3 separate regions of the Homo sapiens genome follow, and regions 2 and 3 are each linked to region 1. The links are contacts of gene promoters, found by promoter capture Hi-C in blood cells and fetal thymus (Javierre and others, 2016). All regions are on one chromosome and are shown on one strand. The core of a region is centred on a gene start or on the middle of the fragment in contact, and the rest is flanking DNA. Distances in the headings are between cores, read along the strand shown.

Region 1 (4,857 bases), core at 1,037-3,536:
AGGTGAGCCACGTTATACAAGGCTTTTTGACTATGATAAAGAATTTGTATTTTACATTACGAGCAATGGGTAAGTGACCATCAAAGAGTTTTTTCAACAAAGGTTTGTGTGATTTAGTAGATGTTTGTAGAAAAGCAATTTGGTTTCCCTGGAGATAATACATTTTTTAGAGGACAAACAGATAAATCATGATATTAGCTAGTAATAATATTAAATTATTATTAATTTAATAAATTATCATAGTAGCCAGGGAAACAATGATATTATAAACCAAGACGGGCAATGTGTAAAAGTGGGCCTATCTGGGATGTGTTTCTGGTAGAAATGGTAGAAATTGATGAAAGATTTGATGGAGAGAGGAAAGGGAAGGAAAGAGAGAAATAAAAAATTTTAAAAATGACTCAAGACTTGTCTTATGCAATTGTGTTATTGGTGGAGTCACTTTATAATATTAGGAGAAAAGGGACAGAAAATAGATTTTGGGGGGAAAATCAAGTACTTTATTGGCATCATTCTTATTTTAAGATTAAACACTCAGATGAATATATTAAATAGCCAGTTGTATTCATGAATTTGAGCTCTCAGGAGTGGTCAGGAATCAGAGGTGCAAATGTTAGTTTCAAATAATAAGAAAAAGTTGACATAGTCTGCACATTAAGGAACTGAGAATTTAGTTTGTAACAGAGATATTAGTTAAATATTTAGTTTAAATATTAGTTAAATATTTAGCTAATAAATACAAAATTATAAGTTTTATTTAAAATTGAAACATGATACCAAAATAATAGATATATGGATAAATTTGTCTTAAGAAACTTCTTGAAAAGTGATTGTTGAGTTGCAAGATCGTTTTAAAAAGGGTAGGAAGAAATTGAGGAAAAGATGATGAATAATTTAGGCAGATAGAACATTTCGAGAAAAATTTTACGAAAGAAGAGAAATTCGATTTAGAGAAATGAAAGAAGATACGTATTCAAAAGACTGAAAAATCCTCTGCAAGAAACGAAGAAACTTCAAGCATTCTATGGAGAAAAAAGTATTAAAAATAGTGAGCTAAGTTATTCAATGCTGAGAAGGAGTCAGGGCAAGAAAAACAATGGTTAGACTGCTAGAAGACGTCAGTGTAGTATAGAGAGTACATTGAGAAGAAAGTCTGTGGAACTGTGTTGTGAGGCTAATAAGACAAAGCTGAAAAGTAGGACATAAAGGGCAGCCCAAATCTGAAGTTACTTTAACATCTCGAAGTTACTCAATCAAACATGAAAGTATGGACTTTTGAACATCTGTTTACATTATTAGAGCTTTAAAAAAACTTATGATGATTCTCAGGTCTGGAACTTAAAGCAGGCAAACAATGTAAAGAAGAAGCCAATTGATTCTGCTACCATGAGGCTTTTGAAATTATAAGCTTGCTTGTTTGAGCCTGGCTTTGTGATCTGTAGAACTGCAGGTTCTAAGAAAGAAAACACAATTGGCCAATACATTGAATAAATGTATATTGAATAAATAGTTAATCAGCTCATTAACTGAATAAATAAAGGAATGGGAAGCACTGAGCTGCTATCAAAGGCTCAGTGTCTTCAATCTAATTCTCTACATCACAAAGGCACAAATGAGTTGAACATCTCAAGAGGCCAGAGCTCCAGTGAGAAATCATTTACCCAAGGTCTCATGCATAAATATTCCTGTCTGCTTATCACCAATGAAGAAAAAGTAATTGCTGGCTACGTCATCTGGAGGGGGAGAAAACAGGAGTATCTTCATTAAATAGTATTTGGAGAAAAAATATACTTGGAGACGGCACAAAATGGAAAATGACGGAAAAGTGACTATTTAATAGACTTATGATATTTAAAGCCCAAAGATTACTCTTCACTTCGAATGTTTAATGAATTGGAGAGAAGAAAATAATTTTTCAAGAACCTCGGCTCTTTACTGGTATAAAATTTTTACCACTATCCTTGGGAAAATGTCTAAGCAACGTATTTTTTTAAAACTAGCCTTCTCCTTTTACTAATCTCTTCCTTATTTGTTTTTGCTTATGGCTTCTAAGGATATGTTCACATCCAGACAGTGAAAAAATAATGACTTTTAAATGACATCAAAAGAAGACCATTTTCTCAAAGGCAATGGATACTATGTCTCAAAGAAACAGAATTTCTCAGCTGTTTTTTTTAAGTCAGTAAGTTTTAGGGTATTTCATTTACTTAGAAATTTCATTGTATTCAGGTGAAATTGAAACATTTCCTTTGAAAAAATACTCTCACATGTTTCTCAGTTCCAGAATGATTACTTCAGTAAGCCCTAGCACCAGCACGAATTCTTCCTTTCTTCTCACTGGATTTTCTGGCATGGAGCAGCAATACCCCTGGCTTTCCATCCCCTTCTCCTCAATCTATGCCATGGTGCTTTTGGGCAATTGCATGGTTCTCCATGTGATATGGACTGAGCCAAGCCTGCACCAGCCTATGTTTTACTTCCTGTCCATGCTGGCCCTCACTGACCTGTGCATGGGGCTGTCCACTGTGTACACAGTGCTGGGGATCCTGTGGGGGATCATTCGAGAGATCAGCTTGGATTCCTGCATTGCCCAGTCCTATTTCATCCATGGTCTGTCCTTCATGGAGTCCTCTGTCCTCCTCACTATGGCCTTTGACCGGTACATTGCAATTTGCAATCCACTACGTTATTCCTCCATCCTGACTAATTCCAGAATTATCAAAATTGGGCTCACTATAATAGGTAGGAGTTTTTTCTTTATTACACCCCCCATCATCTGTCTGAAATTTTTTAATTACTGTCATTTCCACATCCTTTCTCACTCTTTCTGCCTGCACCAGGATCTTCTCCGCTTAGCCTGTTCAGACATCCGATTCAATAGTTACTATGCCCTGATGCTGGTTATTTGCATACTGTTGTTGGATGCTATACTCATCCTTTTCTCCTACATCCTGATTCTTAAGTCAGTCCTGGCAGTTGCCTCTCAGGAAGAGAGGCATAAATTATTTCAGACCTGCATCTCCCACATCTGTGCTGTCCTTGTGTTCTACATCCCTATCATTAGCCTCACAATGGTGCACCGTTTTGGCAAGCACCTTTCCCCCGTGGCCCACGTTCTCATTGGCAACATCTACATCCTTTTCCCACCTTTAATGAATCCCATCATCTACAGTGTCAAGACCCAACAGATTCATACCAGAATGCTTAGACTCTTTTCTCTGAAAAGATATTGAGAGATATTGAGATGTATTGCCTAAAAAAAAGAAAGAAAAGCAGCAACAATAATAAACAAAAATCAGTGCCATAAAAAAGAAAAAATTATTAAAATTGTAGATTTACTCTGAGTCCATGACAAATGACCTTAAAAAATATTTAAATATAGTCAGAGAATCAACAAACAAGTTCCATTGTGTCAGCCTGGACACATGTAGGTCACTCTATCAGTCTGACCATATTTAAGAAAGAGGAAAAAATTGTTTATTTGCCTGAAATGTACTTTTGAGCATTTCCTTTGCTGTAAAACAAAGCTGGATTAAAAACCTAGGTTTTCAAGTTTCAAAGTAGAAAACTTGAAGTTTCTTTCATTCTCTGAGGTTTACTTAATTAACCTTCAAAATGGAGACTATAGCCAACTCACAGGAATGTTGTGATATCTGTATGGACCAGAATTGTCCAAGGGAACTTTTCTAAACTGATGGCGATGTTCTATAAAATACCATAAAATGGCTAAAGTGGAATATATGGCTCCTGTGCGCTTGAAATGATGGTAGTGTAATTGAACAACTGCATTTACAATTTCAGTTACTTTAAGTTAATTTATATTTAAATGTTTAATGTCCTTGTATTGGACAGTTCAGTTCAGCAGCCACTATATTGGACAGGGAAGCTACAGTTCATAAAGAGGACACAAAGAAATATGACTTTGGATTCAACTTCTACCATGTCTAATTTAAATTAGAATCCTTATTTTTTAGATTTTATATGTGGACTCCACTGCTACAAGGCTGGAAGCAGATTTTGCTCTAGATCTTTTGCTTTTATATCTAAGTGGGGGATCTTCTGAACAGATGAGACTGTCCGCTACCGACTTATTCTGAGTTTAAAAGAAAAAAGATAAAAGAACATAAAGCGGTTCTTTTCTAAGTAAGCTAGTGCAGCTTTCCAAAGAAGGAAAGAAAGGAAGGAAATCAGGTACAAAACTATGCATGGATAACAAGAAAATAATTGTTTTAATCTTCCTATATTCTATTAGGTATCTAAGAAGGTAAGTGTTAAAATTGGACAAATTAATGCATAAGAGTCATTTTACACCAAAAAGCAAATATTTATTTTTATTTTTAGATATCAACTAAAACAACCAGATTTGTCTTCCTGTAATTATGCCTTCCTTTCCTTTCACTTTGGACTTCATTCAATAACATAGCCTCTGTCTACTTATTTGACTCAGAGGGAAACAAAAATACAGGCTTTGGTTTCTAATAGCTTAAGCCTCAAAGTGAGGAAATTGTTTCTGGACAGAGTAAAGTATCTGGTTAGAAAGATAAGTGTAAAATTATTCCTAGAACAATAAATTAGGTCTTCTGGGTTACAGTATAAGGTTAATTTGAAGGATAAAGGAGTGAATTTCCTGATGTCAAAGAGGATCTAGTGCATCTTCTGGTATAGCTATCAGAAGTGAAAACTGTGAGGTAGGTTCTAGAGGGGAAAATGTCAATATATATATTTTTTACTATATAATCATAGTAGCTGCCGAGGCGGGCGGATCATGAGGTCAGGAGATCGAGACCATCCTGGCCAGCAATGGTGAAACCCCGTCTCTACTAAAAAAACACAAGAAAGTATCCAGGCGTGGTGGCG
Region 2 (4,857 bases), core at 1,618-4,117, 710 kb before region 1:
GTTTGGCTATGCCCTGCCCTCAGAGGTGGAGTCAGGCAGGCCTCCTTGAGCTGCGGTGGGCTCCACCCAGTTTGAGCTTCCACGCCACTTTGTTTACCTACTCAAGCCTTGGCAGTGGCGGGCACCCCTCCCCCAGCCTCACTGCCGCCTTGCAGTTTGATCTCAGACAGCTGTGCTAGCAATGAGCGAGGCTCCGTGGGTGTAGGACCCTCCAAGCCAAGCGCGGGATATAATCTCCTGGTGTGCCATTTGCTAAGACCATTGGAAAAGCACAGTATTAGGGTGGAAGTGACCCGATTTTCCAGGTGCTGTCTGTCACCCCTTTCTTTGACTAGGAAAGGGAATTCCCTGACCCCTTGCGCTTCCTGGGTGAGGCAGTGCCTTGCCCTGCTTTGGCTCACGCTCGGTGCGCTGCACCCACTGTCCTGCACCCACTTTCTGACACTCCCCAATGAGATGAACCCGGTACCTCAGTTGGAAATGCAGAAATCACCCATCTTCTGCATTGGTCACGCTGGGAGCTGTAGACTGGAGCTGTTCCTATTCGGCCATCTTCAAAAAGTTACCGTATTCTAACATTTTGCTATCATTAATATAAATCAGTAAACATTAGTTGAGCTATGCCCACAATCTTGTGAAAGACAATATTATAAATGTAAAAAAGTTAGGACTTGTGTCCTTTTGATATCAGTATGTACATTAGTAGAAAAATTATTTTCTTGTTTGCATTTACTGTCTACCTATGGTTTCCTAGTACATGCTAGTGTAAAAAGAGGGCTATCAAACAAACAAAAAGGATTGAGTGTGTTAGTTAGAAAAACATTATTTTCATTACTTATTCTGTTAAAACATATTATAATGTCTACTATATTAAAATACACTATAAAACATTCACTTAAAATCGCTTTTATGATGCTTTTAACTGTAAATTGAACTTCAGAGAAGTTTCTCGAGACATAAATCCTCAAAAATTTCTAAAATTATAACTGAATCATATGTATTAACTACTAAAATTTTAAATCAAAATGATTTTCCACAGTGGTCACTATTATATATAGTTACTTGATCAATGTTCGAAAACCATCTGAAATAAACACAAAAGAACTATTTATATAAACCATGTCATCTGAAGTTCAGCAGTGGTTGCAATAACACTTCAGCACAGAATTAGTTCTCTGGATTAATTTTACAGAGGTCCTGGTTGTTACTTGGTTTGTATTTTTATTTTCTTTTATTTTATTACTTTTCTGTTTTCCTAGTGATTCTGTGAGGTATCCATCATCTTTTCAATAATTTTTCTTTGCTTAAAATATCTAGAATTATTTTTTGTTGCTTGAAAGTAAGAATTCTGATTGAAATAGCAGTTAAAGAGGTATGGTGGATATTTCATGTAATAAATATTGAGCTTTTCTTATTTACAAAGATGAACTACATTGTTTTGTACTTTCATAAATGAAGGTGAAGTGGTAGTTAACACCTTGATGCTGGAATTATACTTCCTGGGTTCAAATTTTGGTTTCACTACTTGCTGTGTGTGAAGCCTTTATCAAGTTGTTTTTATGTCTTTGTGCATCTATTTCCTCCTCCGGAAAATAGTCATAAACTTAGCATGTATCTCATGTTAATTGCATTTATTAAATGATGTAACATGAATAATACTAATCATAGTGCCTGATATATGGTACTTTGTAAATATTATCTGTCCCCATTAATAGGAAGTATAATGTATAATGGAAAAGTAGGCATTGAGCCTCACTTCAATACAGTTGTGGTCAGTTATTTCAAAGAAAGAAACTTTCTGGGTGCTACAGTAGAAGCCTGTTACAGTGGAGCCTGACAGCCTAACATAATATTGAAGGTTGGGTAAGGTCATTTTAAGTAAACCTAAGTAGGTTGAACAAGAAAGAAAAATAGGAATCACCTAAGCAAAGAAGGATGAAAAGATTATTTTAGGCAGTGAAAACTACACACATGCAGAGGTTCTGTACTAAGAGAGAAAGCATGTTGAGTTTTAGGAGCAAAGAGAGGAACAATTAAGCTTTGGATAAAAACTTAGGTACTTTTCGTTATTTAATGACAATCTGCTCAACTGTCAATTTGAAGCTTCATCCATCAGTATAAAGGTATATTAAATATGTGTTATGATTGCTTCTCTGACCCAACTGGTCTTCCCAACTGCCCTCCCTTAGATAATCCCAGATTTATTCAAATATTCCAATATTTTGTGAAAAAGCTGACACCTGGGAGGTTCCAGTGGTCAAGAACTCCTGCAGTTACTGAGCAGCATTTTTTCCCTCGTAGGATTATAACTTCAAGTCAGAAAATTCATTTGTTCTCCTCTTTCTTCTGTCTTTTTGTTGGTGGAGAGGAAGTACAATCTTTCTTTTTCCAATTCAAAGACACTGCATTTTCTTACTTCTATTCTCTGTTTAGCATTAACTTTTCTCTTTTTTTATTTTTTATTTTATTTTATTATTATTATACTTTAAGTTTTAGGGTACATGTGCACAATGTGCAGGTTAGTTACATATGTATACATGTGCCATGCTGGTGTGCTGCACCCATTAACTCGTCATTTAGCATTAGGTGTATCTCCTAAAGCTAACTTTTCAAAGGACATATATTTTCTCAAAATACCAGAAGATACCTTGTCTTTCTGTTCTCAATGAATTCTGAAAGTCAATGAGCTACTAAGGATCTGGCTGCTTATTTGGAAACAAAATAATGGAGGATGACATTGGCCGCATAGTCAGGAGAAATAGGACGCTAAAGGCATTCAGTTCTGCCAGCTTGGGACCTGGCAAAACAGTTCTGGAGAAACTTGGAAACCTCAATACAACAGTCGTTGCTAAGCAATAACAAGGCACTGATCAGATCGTCAAGCAACTGACCAAAGAGGAAAAATTTCATAAACAAGTCATTTAAATATGTGGGAAATCATGTAAGAAGGTTTGTGGAAAGTATTAGTGCATCAAACTAGTTTTAAAAAGTTTTACATAACAGAATAATCTGCTCAGTCAGATTAAGTGACAATCACTGTTTGGTCTTGTGAGAAAAGATCAAATGTTATTCATCTCTGCTTTTGGGGAATTAATTGTATAAAGAAGGGCACAATAACTTAAAGTAGAATGATGGCAGTATAATATGGCTGCTATGGTTTGAATGTCCCTCAAGATTCATGTGTTGGAAACTTAAACCCCAATGCAACAGTATTGGGAGGTAGGACCTTTAAGAGGCGATTATGTCACATGGGCCCTGCCCTCATGAATGAATTAGTGCTGCTATCGTGGGAGTGGGTTTGTTATAAAAGCAGATTCAACTCTCCATTTCTAATTCTCTCTCTTCTCTCTTTCTCATGCACATACACTCTTGCCCTTCTGCCTTCTGCCATGAGATGACCCAGTGACAAGGCCTTCACCAGAAGCAGGTCACTTGACCTTGGACTTTCTAGCCTCCAGAGCTGTGAGCCAAATAAAGTTCTATAGTTTATAAATTACCCAGTCTCTGATATCCTGTTATAGTAGCACAAAACAGTACCAGGAAGATTGATATTGGGAGTAGAGTTGTTGCTACAACAAATACCTGAAAATATGGAAGTGGTTTTTGAACTGGGTAATAGATAGAAGCTTGAAGAATTTGGAGAAGCAAGGTAGAAAAAGCCCAGATTGCTGTGAATGGAGCATTAAGCATATTAATTATTTTTATTAGGAAAAAAATGAGAGTCTGAAATCAATTCTATAAGCTTCTGCCTTACAAATCTAGAAAAAGATGGGAAAAGCATATTCAAAAAATAGAAGGAAGAAAATAATAGAAATGAGCCGAACTCAATAAGATAGAAAATGAACAGAAAAAGGAAAAAAAACAAAACCAAAAATGTGCTACTTTGAAAAAAAATCATAGTGTGATACATTTCTTTATACACTATTCAGTCAAGAAAGATAAAAATACAAACACAGAATCAAGACTGAGATTAAGATGGCAAATAGGAGGCTAGTCAGAGACAGGGCAGCATGTAGAGACTCACATCATTAACTTTTCTCCAAGAATTACTGCAGGAACATGCCAGGTAAGCTGAGATAATCCACAGACCCTTTGAAGGAACTGGATTGCTTCTGCAGGCTCCTTGAGATGCCAAAAAACTCTGAATCAGCTTGCTTTCTCAGTGGGGTGGCTGACGGTCTGGGGCAAGTTCTCAGAACTGGTCACCAGCTGCCTGGAAACACTTGGTGTGGTAGGTGGGGCATGATGGAAGTGAGACCAGCATTTAGGACTGTGGCTACATGGGAATGGGGTGAGGCCTGTGACTGCTGTCTTTGTCCCACTTCTCTGGTGACCTGTATGACTCAGCAGAGGCAGCCACAATCCACCAGGGAACATAACTCCATTGGACTGGGAATCACACCCCTATTCCCCACAGCAGCTGCAGCAAGCTCCACCCAAGGAGAGTCTGAGCTCAGACATACCTATGTCTGCCCCCACCTGGTGGTCTTTCTCTACCCGTTCTGGTTGCCAAAGACAAAGGACATAATATCCTGAGAGCTCTATGGCGCTGCCCACCACCTGAGAAACCTGAATACGTAACCAGACAACCCCAGGGCAAGTATACATCCTCCTTCTAGTACTGTAGTTGATGTGCTCTTGAACATGCCACCTCCTGGCTGCAGGCCAACCAACACAAAACCAGTGCACTAAACAAAAATACAACTAAGGACCCTCACAGACTCCACTTAACTCCCCTGCTACCTCCACCGGAGCAGGTGCTGGTATCTGTGGCTGAAAGACCTGAAGACAGATCACATCACAGCACTCTTTGCAGACACTTTCCAGTATTAGCCCAGAGCCCTGTAGCTACACTGG
Region 3 (4,857 bases), core at 1,097-3,596, 660 kb before region 1:
GTAAACATTTATTGGATAATTAATTGATTGGTTGCTTTGATCAGTATTTATAAACTTGGAAATGATGTTGTCCTAGGGAGAAGGGAAGCATTAATTTCCAAATCTTCTTTTAAAATCCACAGAGATACATGGGATAAGTTGCTATCCTTGGAATGTAGCCATATTTTTATTTTTTCAGTTCATGCTGTATGGAGCCCCTAAACATGACCAAGACATCAGACTTAATAAGAATCTCTGGATAAGACCATTGAAGAGGATGACTGATTTCATTTTTATATCCTAAGTGGCCACTGTGCTTTTTTTCCCACTTTGCCCCTGCTTATTTATACAGAATAAAATTTTCTTTCTTTTTTGTCAGAAGAATTTCTCTGTAAGTCAGCATAAGCCTAACTTCCTCTATACAATTTTTCTTGACTCACCTCTACATTTAAAACATCCTGTGCACATTTCTACCATAGCACTTGCAGTACAGTTCTTAAATTTCATGTTTGGAATTTTATCTTCTTTACTACGTGGTGATTTCCTTAAGGATATATGACCAGTTTTATTCATTTTTTGTATTTAAACTTCCTAATTACCACTGATACATAGAGAACCTCTTCAATATTTGATGGGATAAATTGTGAAAGGTATTTCGCTGCCTATTTTGTGTATTCTCAATTAGTGAAAAACAGGAAGTTTATACCCTTATCTCTGATAGTTTCACCCAAGTTTATACACACACATTCTCTCTCTCTCTCTCTCTCTGAAATAATTTCCCAAATTATCAAATAATCTCTCATTTTTGCTATTCTTCGTATGCTTCAAATAGGTACTACCAGCAATGCATTTTTGTTGTTACAGGATTAAAGTAGAACTTGCTGACATTCACACACTTTTATCTCTGCTGCGTACGTCTCAATTCTGACTTCCCCCAATGTTCAAGTATTCTTAAATTGTAATCAATGCTTTTTGTGTAGTTGCCACGTCACATTTAACCAATTCCGCATTATCTGTAAAACTAGTTTTTCCCAAGTAAAAGTAAGTTGCGCAGTAATGAACTTTTTGCTTCAAATTTTGAATTTACTATCTGTAAATTCAGGATTTACTATCCGTAAATTCAGGATTTACTATCTGTAAATTCAGGATTTACTATATTGGAGACATCCATAGAGACAAAACAGCTGGGATAGAATTTGAGTAGCAGCTAAACTGTAGGTCATCCAAAGGGCTTCTACTTTCTTCCCATGAATATAAGACTGAGATATATTTGAAAATTTTGTAGCCCAGAATATTTAGTTTCCTTGCCACAGAAAAAGCTGGCCTATATATAAACAGTTTCTTTACTGAATGCGTGTATTTATGCACTCTCCAAATAATAGGATTATCTAGATTAAAATTATCTCTTCATCCATGTTCCATCATAGCTGCAAAATACTCTTTGTCAAGTATTTTCTTTTCCTTGTTTTTACCCATTTTCCAAATCCGATGGATAAGCTTCTTTTCTCAAACACAGGTGTGATGGAAACTAAATTATTTATTTCCTAAAATATGACATTAAAATTACCCACAGTTTTGCCTCCTTGTAATCAATGTCTATTTGTGGAGGTTTTAAATTGAGAACTATTATGTAGCAGATCTTTTTCCTGCATATGAGCAAGATAAATTGTTTCTTCTCTCAGAAGTATACAGTCTAGTAGTCACAAATTGTATACAGTATACACAGTCTAAATTGTATACAGAAGTATACAGTCTAGTAGTCACAAACTGTATACAGTATATACAGCCTAAATTGTATACAGAAGTATACAGTCTAGTAGTCCCAAATTGTATACAGTATAGTCTAAATTGTATATAGAAGTATACAGTCTAGTAGTCACAAATACCTGTAAAAATGCATAACAACACAGAAACGGTTTTACACACTACATTTTTGATTCCCAAATAGAGGAATAGTTGAGATTACAAATACCTTGATCGTGAAGCAAAAATATGTGTAACATTTCTATAGACACTGACCCTGGAACTTTATTTTTCTCATTTAGTTCTGGCTAAATTCCAGATTTTGCATTTTTATTTGGCAGATGACATTCTTCTGCCATTTCTTTTTATATTAGTCTTTGATATTAGGTGAAGGGGCAGTAGAATAAGACTGGTTCTATTCCTGGTACCAATGTTGCTCAGGAGAGGCTAGGAGAAATTGTGGAGAGTATTTTACCTTACTCATGAATATATATAAAGAAAGATTAATATGTTATTGTGAATTTGACTAGAAATCTGAACAAAAGAAGAAGTGGAACAAGAATTACTAATAGGAATATTATAATCGTCGCTGGTGTGCCCAGCAGCTTTATATGGCAGGAAGAATGTCTACGTCTAATCACACCCAGTTCCATCCTTCTTCATTCCTACTGCTGGGTATCCCAGGGCTAGAAGATGTGCACATTTGGATTGGAGTCCCTTTTTTCTTTGTGTATCTTGTTGCACTCCTGGGAAACACTGCTCTCTTGTTTGTGATCCAGACTGAGCAGAGTCTCCATGAGCCTATGTACTACTTCCTGGCCATGTTGGATTCCATTGACCTGGGCTTGTCTACAGCCACCATCCCCAAAATGTTGGGCATCTTCTGGTTCAATACCAAAGAAATATCTTTTGGAGGCTGCCTTTCTCACATGTTCTTCATCCATTTCTTCACTGCTATGGAGAGCATTGTGTTGGTGGCCATGGCCTTTGACCGCTACATTGCCATTTGCAAACCTCTTCGGTACACCATGATCCTCACCAGCAAAATCATCAGCCTCATTGCAGGCATTGCTGTCCTGAGGAGCCTGTACATGGTTGTTCCACTGGTGTTTCTCCTTCTGAGGCTGCCCTTCTGTGGGCATCGTATCATCCCTCATACTTATTGTGAGCACATGGGCATTGCCCGTCTGGCCTGTGCCAGCATCAAAGTCAACATTAGGTTTGGCCTTGGCAACATATCTCTCTTGTTACTGGATGTTATCCTTATTATTCTCTCCTATGTCAGGATCCTGTATGCTGTCTTCTGCCTGCCCTCCTGGGAAGCTCGACTCAAAGCTCTCAACACCTGTGGTTCTCATATTGGTGTTATCTTAGCCTTTTTTACACCAGCATTTTTTTCATTCTTGACACATCGTTTTGGCCATAATATCCCACAGTATATACATATTATATTAGCCAACCTGTATGTGGTTGTCCCACCAGCCCTCAATCCTGTAATCTATGGAGTCAGGACAAAGCAGATTCGAGAGAGAGTGCTGAGGATTTTTCTCAAGACCAATCACTAACCAGTTGGAGGTTGGAGAGTCTGTCACTCTAACCTAATAGAAAGCAGAAAAACAGAAGGGAATGCTGCAGCCAATAACATTATTTATCTGTTAACTGAAGCTTTTGACTTTAATTATAATAATGAGAATTTTACCCTTGTCGAACTCTCCTTTTCCAAGTTCTTTTATTTCTATTGCTGGATCCTCAAGGCAGTTTTATAAAGTATGTATTAGTTTTTCCATTCTTGTGATTAATATACTTATGTTCGGAAAAGTTGAGTGATTTACTCAAACTACATGTTTAATAGGAAGTAGTAATTTAAGCCAAATAGACTGCCTTATAGTTTTCTTTAGTATGTTTAAGAAATAACAGAATACGGAATAAAATTCTTACTTTAAAAAGATAATAAACAGAATAAGTGGCTTCTAGAATTCTTAAAATAATAATAATAGCTTACTCTAGTAATAATATTAACATACCATAGATGCAGTGTAGATATATGGGTATTGACAGGTATACCACACATGAATATACTCATATCATGCCCACCATAATCTTATTCAATAGTTACTATAATTTCCCTCATGCACCTAGAGATGCAAGCATAGTCATAAAATTAGATATTAAAGGAAAAAGGAAATAATGCAGCATGAGCATGACATATACATTCGTAAATATTTCATTCATTTGCTTGTTTAATTATTTAAATAATATTTACATAATATATTTTTACATATATGAATATATGTGCGTGTGCGTGTGCATACTTCTACTATGTTTCATGTGTGGGTTTATGAGCTGTAGGAACATTCGAAGACACAGTGTATTGTCTTTAAGTACTTATATACTTTGAGAAAAAAGAAATAATAAGTTGTTTCTAAAGTAGTGTTGAGACATATTTTTTTTTTCTTCAGGAGATTTGGAAATTGTGTGGCTATTAGCAGTTTCATTCATAATGAAATTTATAATCCCTTAAAAAACTTGGAGGAAGATAATTGCAGGAAGAACACCTTGAATGTAAGTTCTTTATTGCTGCTCTGCCTGCCATTTATACAGTTAAGATATAGGATTAGGCAGTAGACCACAACAAGTGGCATGTGCAGACTATAAAGCAAAGACACTTAAATTTAGCTGTGATTCAATGATCTCCTATAGAAAGCAGCCCTTAGGTCAATCACTGGGTGAACAGATAGGAGCAGAATGCGCTCTGTGGAAATTAAGGGTTTAGGACCAGAGTCTACCATTTTCTTATGGGAGATTCCAGAGAGTGATGACATGGAGGATCTCCCTCTCTTGGCTTCAGGCGAGGTTCTACTTGTCGTATAAATCTTTCCTCCTCAGGGTCACAGCCCTGCAACTGGGCAGGTGTTTACTGGTAGAATGTAGGATGGAAGGCTGTGGAAGTACTTGATGGTTTCTTTCTTGGAGAAGATTCTCTGGCCATGGCAAGACAGTTGAGTGTATTCTAAAGACATCTCAGTAGACAAGGTAGGGCCGGAAAAATTTAGGTAGGGCTCAGGACTGAGGGAGTAGGAGCAACTAGGGAGGAGAGAAGCAGCACCAAGGAATATGGGTAGAGAGAAAGTGAGA

The links. Contacts are between HindIII fragments. The CHiCAGO score rates a contact against its expected background, and 5 or more counts as called.
Region 2: a contact is called between a fragment that was not itself captured here and the fragment with the promoter of OR51V1 in region 1, in 3 of 17 cell types (naive B cells, monocytes and neutrophils). The highest score is 7.4, in naive B cells.
Region 3: a contact is called between the fragment with the promoter of OR52E8 here and the fragment with the promoter of OR51V1 in region 1, in 4 of 17 cell types (naive CD8 T cells, activated CD4 T cells, neutrophils and 1 more). The highest score is 7.2, in naive CD8 T cells.

Annotation. Positions count from the first base shown.
Region 1 is chr11:5,198,111-5,202,967 of GRCh38, reverse strand. It overlaps OR51V1 (olfactory receptor family 51 subfamily V member 1), which reads left to right and starts at 2,286. Exons shown (of 1, transcript NM_001004760.3): 1 at 2,286-3,233. The coding sequence starts at 2,286. The coding sequence ends at 3,233. The HindIII fragment of the contact is 3,813 bases long and covers 1,411-4,857 here.
Region 2 is chr11:5,910,192-5,915,048 of GRCh38, reverse strand. All of the region lies in intron 2 of LOC112268071 (a long non-coding RNA gene), which reads left to right. Among named protein-coding and RNA genes, the nearest start is that of OR52E5, 19 kb to the right of the region's middle. The HindIII fragment of the contact is 1,523 bases long and covers 2,106-3,628 here.
Region 3 is chr11:5,855,179-5,860,035 of GRCh38, reverse strand. It overlaps OR52E8 (olfactory receptor family 52 subfamily E member 8), which reads left to right and starts at 2,346. Exons shown (of 1, transcript NM_001005168.3): 1 at 2,346-3,287. The coding sequence starts at 2,346. The coding sequence ends at 3,287. The HindIII fragment of the contact is 1,911 bases long and covers 1,479-3,389 here.